2 separate regions of the Homo sapiens genome follow, and region 2 is linked to region 1. The links are contacts of gene promoters, found by promoter capture Hi-C in blood cells and fetal thymus (Javierre and others, 2016). All regions are on one chromosome and are shown on one strand. Each heading gives the region's core, a stretch centred on a gene start or on the middle of the fragment in contact. The rest is flanking DNA. Distances are from core to core; before and after follow the strand shown. Region 1 holds the start of SRSF1 (serine and arginine rich splicing factor 1). Region 2 has its middle 61 kb from the start of AKAP1.

Region 1 (5,645 bases), core at 451-2,950:
CATAACTTGGACTTCTGGGCCCATCAACTTTAACCCGGATGTAGGCAGTTTCTCCCTATTGGATAGACAGAACTTTCCATTGAAAGATCTAAGCTTTCATCTATCTTCAGACATGCTGAATGAATACAATGTAACTAAAACCAGAAATCTGGCAATTTACTTGGACAACCTTGCCTGAATCCTTACCTTGAAATTCCACTGTTAAGACCACTGTATCCAATTCTGGTCAAAGAAAAGAATACGTGTATAACCTACCTCATGAGATCTAAACTTAGTGTTATCCAGTTTTCGAACTGCATAGGTCATATCTTCTTTCCGTACAAACTCCACGACACCAGTGCCATCTCGGTAAACATCAGCATAACATACATCACCTGCTTCACGCATGTGATCCTTTAAATCCTGCCAACTTCCACTTGGAGGCAGTCCTGAAAAAGTGATTTTTTTTTTCTTAGTACCAATTATCTTAAATTTCACGTTAAGCTGGTAAGGTACATTAGGACAAAGAGTACTTTAAAGTACTTAATAGGTGTACTTAAGTGATACCAGGTAAAGAGAGCTGGTAAGATTCTGGAATCCAGAGTCCAAAATTATTTGTAACGATCTTCGTATCTAGTACCGCAACCTAATTTGGTAAATCACCACAGCAGCAATCCTCGTTTATTAAATTCACCCAAAAACTAAAGCAATTTAAGACCTAGCATGAAAAATTTGCAATTATTAAACCTGTCACGCAAGAGAAAAATTTTAGGTAGTTTTCGTCCCTTCACATCAATCCACACAACCAGTACACTCACCAGAGACAACCACTCTGTTTTCAGACCGCCTGGATGGGGGGCCATAGCGACCTCGGGGAGCTCCGCCACCTCCACCCCCGCCGCCGCCTCGGCCTGTTCCACGGCCGCTTCGAGGAAACTCCACCCGCAGACGGTACCCATCGTAATCATAGCCGTCGCGACCATACACCGCGTCTTCCGCGTCTCTGCGGGATCGCAGAAAGTAAAAGGGATGAGAAACACCAGGAGGAGAAGCTCGCTCAGTTGGGAACCAGCAAACCCCCCGCACATGCGCACCCAACGTGGAAGAGCCCACATGCGCCGCATAATAGGAATGGCCCCTCCCCCACCCAGAAACACGCCAGGCTCCCAACCACTACACCAGCCCTCAGCGCCTCAGTTTCCCGCTCCAGCCTGCGAATGGGCTCCGGGGACGTCCAAGGCGAGGCGCCAGAGAAGCCACATCAACTCAGCTCCTTACTCGACTCCTGCATGGGCGATACAGTCTCGCCCCAACCTCTCTAAGAGCCCCCGCTTCCCCGTTCTCTATGTTAAGGCCTTGGAGCCTTCCCCAACTACTCGGACCTATTTCCTCAAGGCTGCAAGCCCCATGCCGCCTCACCGCGGGTCCTCGAACTCAACGAAGGCGAAGGGCGGTCCCCCGCGGCGATTCTTGAGGTCGATGTCGCGGATAGCGCCGTATTTGTAGAACACGTCCTCAATGTCCTTGGTTCGGATGTCTGGAGGTAAGTTACCCACGTAGATGCGGCAATCGTTGTTCCCTGCGGGGCCACGAATCACACCACCTCCCGACATGGCGGTGACGAAAAGCGCGGACTCGAGAACAGGCCTTCCCACCAAGCCTAGCGCACGGCAGAGCGAGCCCGCAGCGGCACCACGTCTCCCGCGGCCCCTCCAAAATGGCGCCTTTATCAGCTCGGCGCACGGATATGGGGGGGAGACAGAGGAAGAGAAGCGGAAGGAAACAGCGATTCGATCCCAACACGCACGCGCGGGAGCGCAACGGGTGCTGCGAGGGCTACGTTCAGCGCACGCGCACGCACGCGCGACGTCACCCTCCCCACGAAGGGGGTAAAAAAGTCCCCCGCGTTCCCAGCTTGGGGTGGTTTGCGAACAGAGTGACCAGCCGTTTGGTAAAAGTTAAATAACGAACTTTCGTTAAAGGAGCTAGTCATCCAGGTCGGGTCTTGAAGGATGGTCGATTTCTCCAGGAATGAGGATCTTTGAAAGCAACTCGGCGCCTTCAAAGCACTTGGTGAAACCTAGCCTAAAGCGTTGTCCCACCATGCTCTGCGGCGATAACGGCCTTTGGCGGGAAAGAGTCTCGGAGGCGGGGCCAAAGGGGGACGGCCCGGGCGGTTGCTCCGGAAACCCGGGTATCTTCGTAGGGTGCGTCTAATCCAGAGCTGAGTTGCGGGTGATTGAACGGAGAGCTGGGGCGTTGGTTTGTCTTCCCGCCCCTGCTGCGAATAGACCGTGGCTGCTTAGACAGATGTGTCTAATTTAGCGAAACCGATTTAGATTCCTTAATCCTCTTCATTAAGTACCGTTCCGCCTTCTCGTCAGAACTTTGCATAGCTCGGGTCAGCACTCCTAGTGCTAGTCGCAGTGGGTCCGTATCCCGACCGGCAACGTGGTACCCGCCAACCAGAAGGGGTAACACCGTACCGCCTATGGGACCCACACCTTTTTATCTCTTGTTAGTCGCCTGTCCGTGGGACTAGCGCAGAATGCCTGCAGAATGAATCGTTTCTGTTGTTTCCTTTCAAAGAACGAGAAGGAAGAAAGGGTGCGTGTGTGCAGTCCTTTTTTCAAAAGTTTTCCCTAAAAGTTACTGATACACCAGGTTTTGAAAATACCGGTCCTCTCAGGTAATAAAATGGAGCAAAATGGATGTGAGAACCGTAACCACTAGATACCGCGGTTGCTATTCAGGACTGTGATCCTGTTTGCCTGCGGCATTGGGAGATAACATTTTACATTTTTTTTCGACGTCTGAAATCTGGATTTTTATGTGAAATCCTGGGATTTTTAAACGTCGCTAATGAATTAAAATTCAAATCAGGCTGGGCGCGGTGGCTCACGCCAGCACTTTGGGAGGCCGAGGCGGTTGGATCACTTGAGGTCAGGAATTCGAGACCAGCCTGGCCAACATGGTGAAATCCCGTCTCTACTGAAAAAACAAAAAATTAGCCGGGCTTGGTGGCAGGCGCCTGTAATCCACTCTACGCGGGAGGCTGAGGCAGGAGAATCGCTAGAACCCTGGAGGCGGAGGTTGCAGTGAGCTGAGATGGCGCCATTGCACTGCAGCCTGGGCTACAGAGTGAGACTCCTCCAAAAAAAAAAAAAAGGAGGGGGAAACAACAACAAATTAAAATCAAACCCTGCAGTCATAAATTTGCCATAACAGATCTACACACTGAATTTAAGGGATAATTTTCTTCATGTTATTTATTTACAGTAGTCCCTTTCCGCAAGGATGTGAGGCAACTTACAGAGATACCATAAAACATGAAAACTAGATGAGGCTGGGCGTGGTGGCTCACTCCTGTAATCCCAGCACTTTGGGAGGCCGAGGCGGGCGGATCACCTGAGGTCAGGAGTCGGAGACCAACATGTCGAAACCCGTATCTTCTAAAAATACAAAACATTAGCTGGGTATGGTGGCGCGTGCCTGTAATCCCAGCTACTCGGTAGGGTGAGACAGGACAATCTCTTGAACCCTTAGGAGGTGGAGGCTGCAGTGAGCGGAAATCACGCCACTGCACTCCAGCCTGGGTGACAGAACAAGACTCCATCTCACACACACACAAAAAAAATGCTAGAGTAAGAAATCAGAGGAATGGGAAAATGAGGGGTGGATTAAATGAAATACGCATAAATTACTATACAAAATGCCTGCAGTGAAAGCCCGTTGAATTTGTTGAGATAGATTGCAAATTTTACTTTAGTCTTCCCAGAAGTCACGGTAAAGAAGGGTACAGAAGTATTGTGTATTCAAAATCCAAAGTGCCTTTGGGATAAAAGTAAATAGGTCATTCAGGAGAAGGACATGTTTTCTTAATTCTAAAAGCTGATGAAATATATTTTACAAATGTTTCTCGGTGACCCCAAAATACAAATTCAATTTGAAATGAGCAGGGATGCTTGGTCTTGTGGCCGTAGATCCTCGGTATATCTACAGATGACCTTTGGTAATCCTTGAGCTTTCTGTAATATTTTCGAAAATTATATGCATGTGTGCATGTACAAAATTATATGCATGTGTGTACTTTTTTCTGGGAAGAGGATTTGGAATTTTAATCAACTTCTTAAAGGAGTCCATAGATCCCAAAAGGAAAAAGAACTTCTGAAATTTGTCAAGGGAAGGATAGATTGCCTATTCTTCAGACCATCCTTTAAGTATATATATAGATGTGTGTTTGTGTGTGTGTGTGTATATATATATATATATATATATATATTTTTTTTTTTTTTTTGAGACAGAGTTGCCCTCTGTCACCCAGGCTGGAGTGCAATGGCATGATCTCAGCTCAGTGCAACCTCTGCTTCCCTGGCCTAAGTCATTCTTGTGCCTCAGCCTTCCGAGTAGCTGGAATTACAGACATGTGCCACGATGCCCAGCTAATTTTTGTATTTTTGGTAGCTGGGATTACAGGCATGAGCCACCACGTCCAGCTAATTTTTGTATTTTTAGTAGAGACGGGGTTTCGTCATGTTGGCCATGCTGGTCTCGAACTCCTGGCCTCAAGTGATCCTCCGGCCTTGGCCTCCCAAAGTAGTGGGATTACAGGCATGAGCCCCTGCACCTGGCCGGCTTTTTTTTTTTTTTTTTTTTTTTTTTTTGAGACAGGGTCTTGCTCTTTCACTCAGGCTGGAATGCAGTGGTGCAATCACAGCTCACTGCAGCCTCGACCTCCTGGACCCAAGCGATTCTCCCACCTCAGTGTCCTTCGTAGCTGAGACTACAGGTATGCATCACCACTTCAGACTGATTTTTGTATTTTTTGTAGCGATGGGGTCTCGCCATGTTGCCCAGGCTGCTTTTGAACTCCTGAAGTCAAGCGATCCTTCCATCTCGGCCTCCCAAAGTGGGGGGATTACAGGCATGAGCCATTGTGCCTGGCCAGAGCCTGATATGTTTTTAAATGAGAAGGTGACCAAAAAAGATACTATTTCAACAAATCTACTGTTTCTAGCATTGTTCCATTAAGTGAATGGCAGAAAAGAGGAGAGTTTTTAAAAACTTGCAGCCTGTTGATTCTTTCATTCAACAGTTATTTGCTGAACACATTTTCTTTCTGTTCTTTTATACATCAGTTTAAATTTATGCAGGCAAAGCTTCTGTTAATCATAAGTCAATGATAACTGAAGTGATAACTGAAATCAGTAGTTTATAATTGGATAGTTCATTTTAAGAAGGGATGAGACAATACACATAGGTACTTTTAATTTCAAGGTAATTTCATTCCAGAAAAATATAATTGAATTTGCTTTTTGTTTGTTTGTTTGAGGTGGAGTCTCGCTCTGTCACCCAGGCTGAAGTACAGTGGCAGGATCTCGGCTTACTGCAATATCCTCCACCCAGGTTCAAGTGATTCTCGTGCCTCAGCCTCCTGAGTAGCTGGGACTACAGGCATATGCCACCACGCCTGGCTAATTTTTATATTTTTAGTAGAGATGGGGTTTCATCATGTTGGCTAGGCTGGTCTTGAACTCCTGACCTCAAGTGATCTGCCCACCTTGGCTTCCCAAACTGCTGGGATTACAGGCATGAGCCACCACACCCAACCTGAATTTGCTTTGATTTATTCTTGTCTAATTTAATGCAGTAATTTCTGATTTTGT
Region 2 (5,583 bases), core at 921-3,420, 860 kb before region 1:
GAAGACTTTATGGGGCTTTCAGGACCTAATGGTGGCCTGATTCAGTAAGAAAAATGGGTCTCTAGTAGGATGTGGCCAATAATTAGATGAGTCCATAACCTGACAGATGCTCACCTGGGAGATAGAGAGGTCGGGGGACCTTGTGAGGGGCCAGGGACTCCAACAGAATAAGCTGTAAGCGGGAACAGGAAGGGAACGGATGTGCAAAGTCATGAACTCTGAGCTGTCTTCCTAGCTCAGCTCCTGTTCTGTGTGACCTTGAGCAGGTCACTTGCCTTCTCTGAGCTTTAGTTCCTCATCTATAAATGAGGAATGTGGACGTGCTGACCTACAAGATTCTTTTTTTTTTTTTTTTTTTTTTGAGATTGAGTCTCACTCTGTGTCCCAGGCTGCAGTGCAGTGGCTCACTGCAGCCTCGACCTCCTGGGCTCAGGTGATCCTCCCACCTAAGCCTCCTGAGTAACTGGGACTACAGGCATGTGCCACCATGCCTGTCTAATTTTTGCATTTTTTTTTTCAGTAGAGACAGGGCTTTGCCATGTTACTCAGGCTAGTTTTGAACTCCTGGGCTCAAGCAATCTGCCTGCCTCGTACTCCCAAAGTGTTGGGATTATAGGCGTGAGCCACTGCGCCCAGCTGGTTCTTTTCTTCTCTGACATTAAAATGACTCTGAGGCCTATGATCATGGTCCTCTGGGTGGGGAAGGTTGGGAAGATCTCATCTGAGTTTAGCTTATCCCTAGGCCTTGACCAATCGCTGATGCTCCTTAAGGGTCTCCTACATTTTGGAGGCATATGCAGAAGGAACCTGAAGTCACAAGATCAGAGGTCCTGCGGCAGTTTAAATAACAATAGCAACAACTGCTACGACTACTTCTCCCATTATTCAGCACAACTGCAGCTGGGGGATTTAGGTTCATGGTCTGCAGCTAACATTTATTGCGGACTTACTCTGGGCCAGGCACCATTCCTTACGCTTTATGTATATTATCCTGCTTCACCCTCCCAACGACCCCAGGAGGTAGGTACTGTAGCTTCTACAGGAGGTAGAAGCAGAAGCACAGAAGCCTAGTGTGTGTCCCAGGCCACACAACCGGTAAGTGAGATTGTTAAGATGCCCCCGGGAGTCTGTCTCCAGAATCTGTGTTCCTCATCACTCCTGCATACTCCCCATTTACAAGGGCAGAAACTGAGGCTACAGGAGGTTAATTGATCTGTGAACAGCCAGGATCCTGGGAGTTCTCAGACCTGTCCATTTTGTGAGAAGGGAAAAAGTCTCGCTGCTCCTTGTGTTTCTTTCTGTTTTTCCAAGTCAGTCCATTTTTTTTCTTGTAACAAAAGTCTATTTACGGAAGAGACATATAGGACCCAAGATAACCATGCATCAGTCATGCTTCAGTGAACTCCCAAATCAAAGATGGGCTGGATAACGTGTACCCGACGCTCTTGGCTTTTTCAGCATTTCAGACGTTTTTGTTGTTGTTCCCTCTGTGGGTTGAAACCAGGCTTTTGTGACTTGATGAGGACACATTTTTCCTGGGGTGTAATAATGCCACTGGTGTTAGCCCTAATGCTGAAGAGAGAACATTTGCTATTTTGGAAGAGTTAATCCCAAAGCTTCTTTCTTTTGCTCCTGCCTTTAGAAAAGGCATTTCTGAGGCAGGTCCAGGCAAGAGTACTGCCTCTGTAATCCGCCCTCAATCATCTTAGCGCTAATCACCGAGCTTCATTGAGTACTTTGTAATGTGCCAAGCTGGGAGCTGAAGGCTGATTTGATTCTCTTAACATCTTCTGAACGGGTATAGCTGTTACCCCCATATTACAGATAGGGCACTGAGGCATGGAGCTTAAATGGCTTGACCAAGATGCCCCGGCAGCAAGGGGCAGAGCTGGGAATAGAACCCCGACTCCAGACATAGGCTATTAATGCCACAGTCTGCTACTCCAGGACTGACCATTACGTTTGTGGGGAGTGGGAGGGGAATGAAACTGCAGGGCCTCTTGTTCAACAAAGATTAAGACTTTAAGACTGCTGGGTGCAGTGGCTGAAGCAGTTTGGGATGCTGAGGTGGGAGGATCGCTTGAGCCCAGGAGTTCAAGACCAGCCTGGGTAACATAATGAGACCTCCGTCTCTATCTTTTAAATATAAAAAACTAAAAAATTAAAAATAAAAATAATGTAGGCCGGGCATGGTGGCTCACGCCTGTAATCCTAGCACTTTGAGAGGCCAAGGCAGGTGGATCACCTGAGGTCAAGAGTTCAAGACCAGCCTGGTCAACATGGCGAAACCCCGTCTCTACTAAAAATACAAAACTTAGCCAGGTGTGGTGGCACATGCCTGTAATCCCAGCTACTCAGGAGGCTGAGGCAGAAGAATCGCTTGAACCCGAGAGTTGGAGGTTTCAGTGAGCCAAGATCGCGCCATTGCACTCCAGCCTGGGCAACAAGAGTGAAACTCCGTCTCAAAAAAAAAAAAAAAAAAAGTGTTAAGACTGTGACGGCAGAGTATTAACCAACTGTGGAGCCCTTCTCAGTATGAGGCCCTGTGTGACTGCACAGGACAGATGCCCAGGAAGCTGGCCCTGACTACCCCTTTGGGCAGTTCCCTGGCTGTCTTCCAGCTTCCAGCCCTCTTTTCCAGGGGGACAAAAGCACCTTGGCCCAGGCAATGTGCTTTATACCGCCCTGACAGCTATGAAAAAGAATGGCACAGCCTGGGCTTTAGAAAGCTTGGGTTGCTGCAGGTTCCTTCTGAGCAGCAGGCAGAGAGGGCTCAAGCCAAGACTGGGTGCCCCAGCCCATCTTCTGCCTCATCGGTGCCCCCGAGGGCTGGCACTTGGCGAAGCCCCACCCCACCTCCAGGCTGTGTCTTGTGGAGAACACAGCCCCTCTGGACTCCTCCCTGTCTCTGCCCATCCTGTGGCTATGTTCATGATGGGGCCTCCTGGAGGTTCAGAGAGGGCCAGAACATTGTCCTTTCTTTAAGCTTTGGTTTATTAAACAATGGAGAAATGTCAAAACGGATTGCAAAAATTGTGGTGTGCTTCAAATGTGTGCATGTTTAAAATCAAGGCCATTATTATAAAAACAAATAAGATGCAATATAAATGTGCTTTTCCCAAGACAGTTACTGGATTTATTCATTCCCAGCTCACATACACAGTAGAACCCGGTAATGGAATACGTGGTGTTATGATATAGATGGGCTGTTGTCCACGGCTTCTGCTTCATATCTCCCATAGCCCCTGTTACAGCCTTTACTTATAATGTTGGGTGTATTAGGCCTCAGGGGCAGGCTTCAGGAAACAGAATCTCTCTCTTGCCCTCCATTCACCTAACTCAAGATAGGACTCTCATTTTCTTTTTTTATTGAGATGGAGTCTCGCTTTGTCACCCAGGCTGGAGTGTAGTGGCGCAATCTCAGCTCACTCCAACCTCTGCCTCCTGGGTTCAAGTAATTCTCCTGCCTCAGCCTCCTGAGTAGCTGGAATTACAGGTGCCCACCACCATGGCTAGCTAATTTTTGTATTTTTAGTAGAGACACAGTTTCACCATGTTGGCCAGTCTAGTCTTGAACTCTTGATCTCAGGTGATCCGCCCGCCTCAGCCTCACAAAGTGTTGGGATCACTGGTATGAACCACTATACCCAGCCTCAACTTCCCCTGCCTTTCTGATTGTGGGTCTTAAGGCTTTCTTCAGAGAGGGTCCCACCCTGTACCCTGGGGGGAAAATGCTTTGAAACTTCCATAAATACCCAAGAGGACTGGGTTGGGGGAGCTCCCGGATAGCTGAACGTGTGAAGCCTGGTATCCCAGGGAGGGGATGGAAGCTCCACGCCCTTTCTCCTATACCCTATGCATCTCTTCATCTGTATCCTTTGCAATATCCTTTTTTGGAGACAGAGTCTTGCTCTGTGCCCAGGCCGGAGTGCAGTGGTGTGATCTTGGCTCACTGCAACCTCTACCTCCCGGGCTAAAGCCATCCTCCCACCTCAGCCTCTTGAGTAGCTGCGATTACAGGCATGCGCCATCACGCCTGGCTAATTTTTGTATTTTTTGCAGAGACGAGGTTTCACCATGTTGGCCAGGCTGGTCTCGAACTCCTGGCCTCGAGTGATCTGCCCACCTTGGCCTCCCAACGTGCTTGGATTACAGGCGTGAGCCACTGTGCCTGGCTGCGATATTCCTCATAATGAACTGGTAAATGCGAGTGTTCCCCTGAGTTCTGTGAGCTGCTCCAGCAAATTAATTGAACACAAAGAGGGTGGTGGGGGCAATTGTGAAGCCAATCAGTCAGAAGTTTCAGAGGCCTGGACTTGCCACTGGTGTGTGCTGGAGGGCAGTCACGGGGACTAAGCCCTCAGCCTGTGGGAGCTGACGCTATCGTAGTGTCTGAACTGAATTGGAGGACACCCCCCTGGGGTCCGCTGCTTGGTGTGTGGGGAAGAAACACACATACCTTTGGTCATAAAAATTCTGTGTTGATTGCTGTGGTGTGACAGCTGAGGAAAAATGTGGCTGGAGAGAGTTTTTCCCTATAGAATATAATTATTTTTTAGTTTTCATTGAGGTATAATGCACGAAGTATGGGGAAAGTGCACTGATCTTAGGTGTTCCACTTGCTTTTTATATATGTATATACCTCCATAACCACTACCGACATCAGGATATTTACAGCACCTAGAAGTTTCTCTCACCCCCCTTCAAAGTCAGTACCCCCGAAGAGGTCAGTGCCGTTATGGGTTCTATCACCTAATGATTGGTTTTACCTGTTCTTGGATTTCCTATAAATGGAAGAATACAGTGTATATTCTTTTGTGCTTGGTATCTTTCTCTGAACATAATGTCTGTGAAATCACCTATGTTTTTGCATATGGCAGTGGTTTATTCTTTTTATTGTTGAGTAGAATTCCATTACGTGATTATGCTGCAATATATTCCCCATTCTCTTGCTGAAATGGGCATTTGGGTTGCATCCAGTTTGGGGCTATTAGGAGGAAAATGCTGTCAACATTCTTGGACACTCTTTTTTTTGGTGGATATATGCACCCATTTCTCTTGGCTGGGGTATGCGTATGTTTAGTTTTCTGAAGTGGTTGTACCAGTTACCACTCGTATAGCAATGCATGAGGGAAAATATACGTTTAAAACTGTAGGATGAATATCCTCTTCTTTCGATCTATTTGGTATCCCTCTGTGAATGCAGCATTTTGCAGAGATGTCCAAGTTTGAATAGCATGCTGGGCAGCCCCCTCGTGCCCCACTGCGACCATATCTGATAGGAAAATTCCACGGAGACACTGCTTTCTCTCAGGAGCCTCTGTACCCCATCTCCTCCACATTACCCTCCAGCTGCCGGGGCAGGGGCTTTGGAGGTAGGATGCCTCCAATCTGACTAGCTCTGTCAATGAGGTCATGGAAGGGAAAACTAAACCAAGAAAGGAAGAGCCAGAGGGGAAAAATGAGGGGGAAGGAAGTGGTCGCATGTGACAGAGAGTCCTGTAGGATCTTGGGAAAGCCGTGTGGATATCTAACCCGGGATCCTCAGCTGCCTTCACTTTTTGGGCAGCTCCCATGGGCCAG

The links. The method cuts DNA at HindIII sites, captures the fragments that hold promoters and counts their contacts. A CHiCAGO score of 5 or more calls a contact.
Region 2: a fragment that was not itself captured here is called in contact with the fragment with the promoter of SRSF1 in region 1 in 1 of 17 cell types (M2 macrophages); the score reaches 6.1 in M2 macrophages.

What each region holds. Positions count from the first base shown.
Region 1 is chr17:58,005,546-58,011,190 of GRCh38, forward strand. SRSF1 (serine and arginine rich splicing factor 1) reads right to left here and starts at 1,701. Exons shown (of 4, transcript NM_006924.5): 1 at 1,399-1,701; 2 at 798-982; 3 at 256-428; 4 at 1-55. The coding sequence starts at 1,592. RefSeq lists enhancers at 1-511, 843-892, 1,163-1,212, 1,336-2,054, 2,003-2,052. The HindIII fragment of the contact is 5,045 bases long and covers 92-5,136 here.
Region 2 is chr17:57,143,862-57,149,444 of GRCh38, forward strand. No RefSeq gene overlaps it. Among named protein-coding and RNA genes, the nearest start is that of AKAP1, 61 kb to the left of the region's middle. The HindIII fragment of the contact is 1,113 bases long and covers 1,615-2,727 here.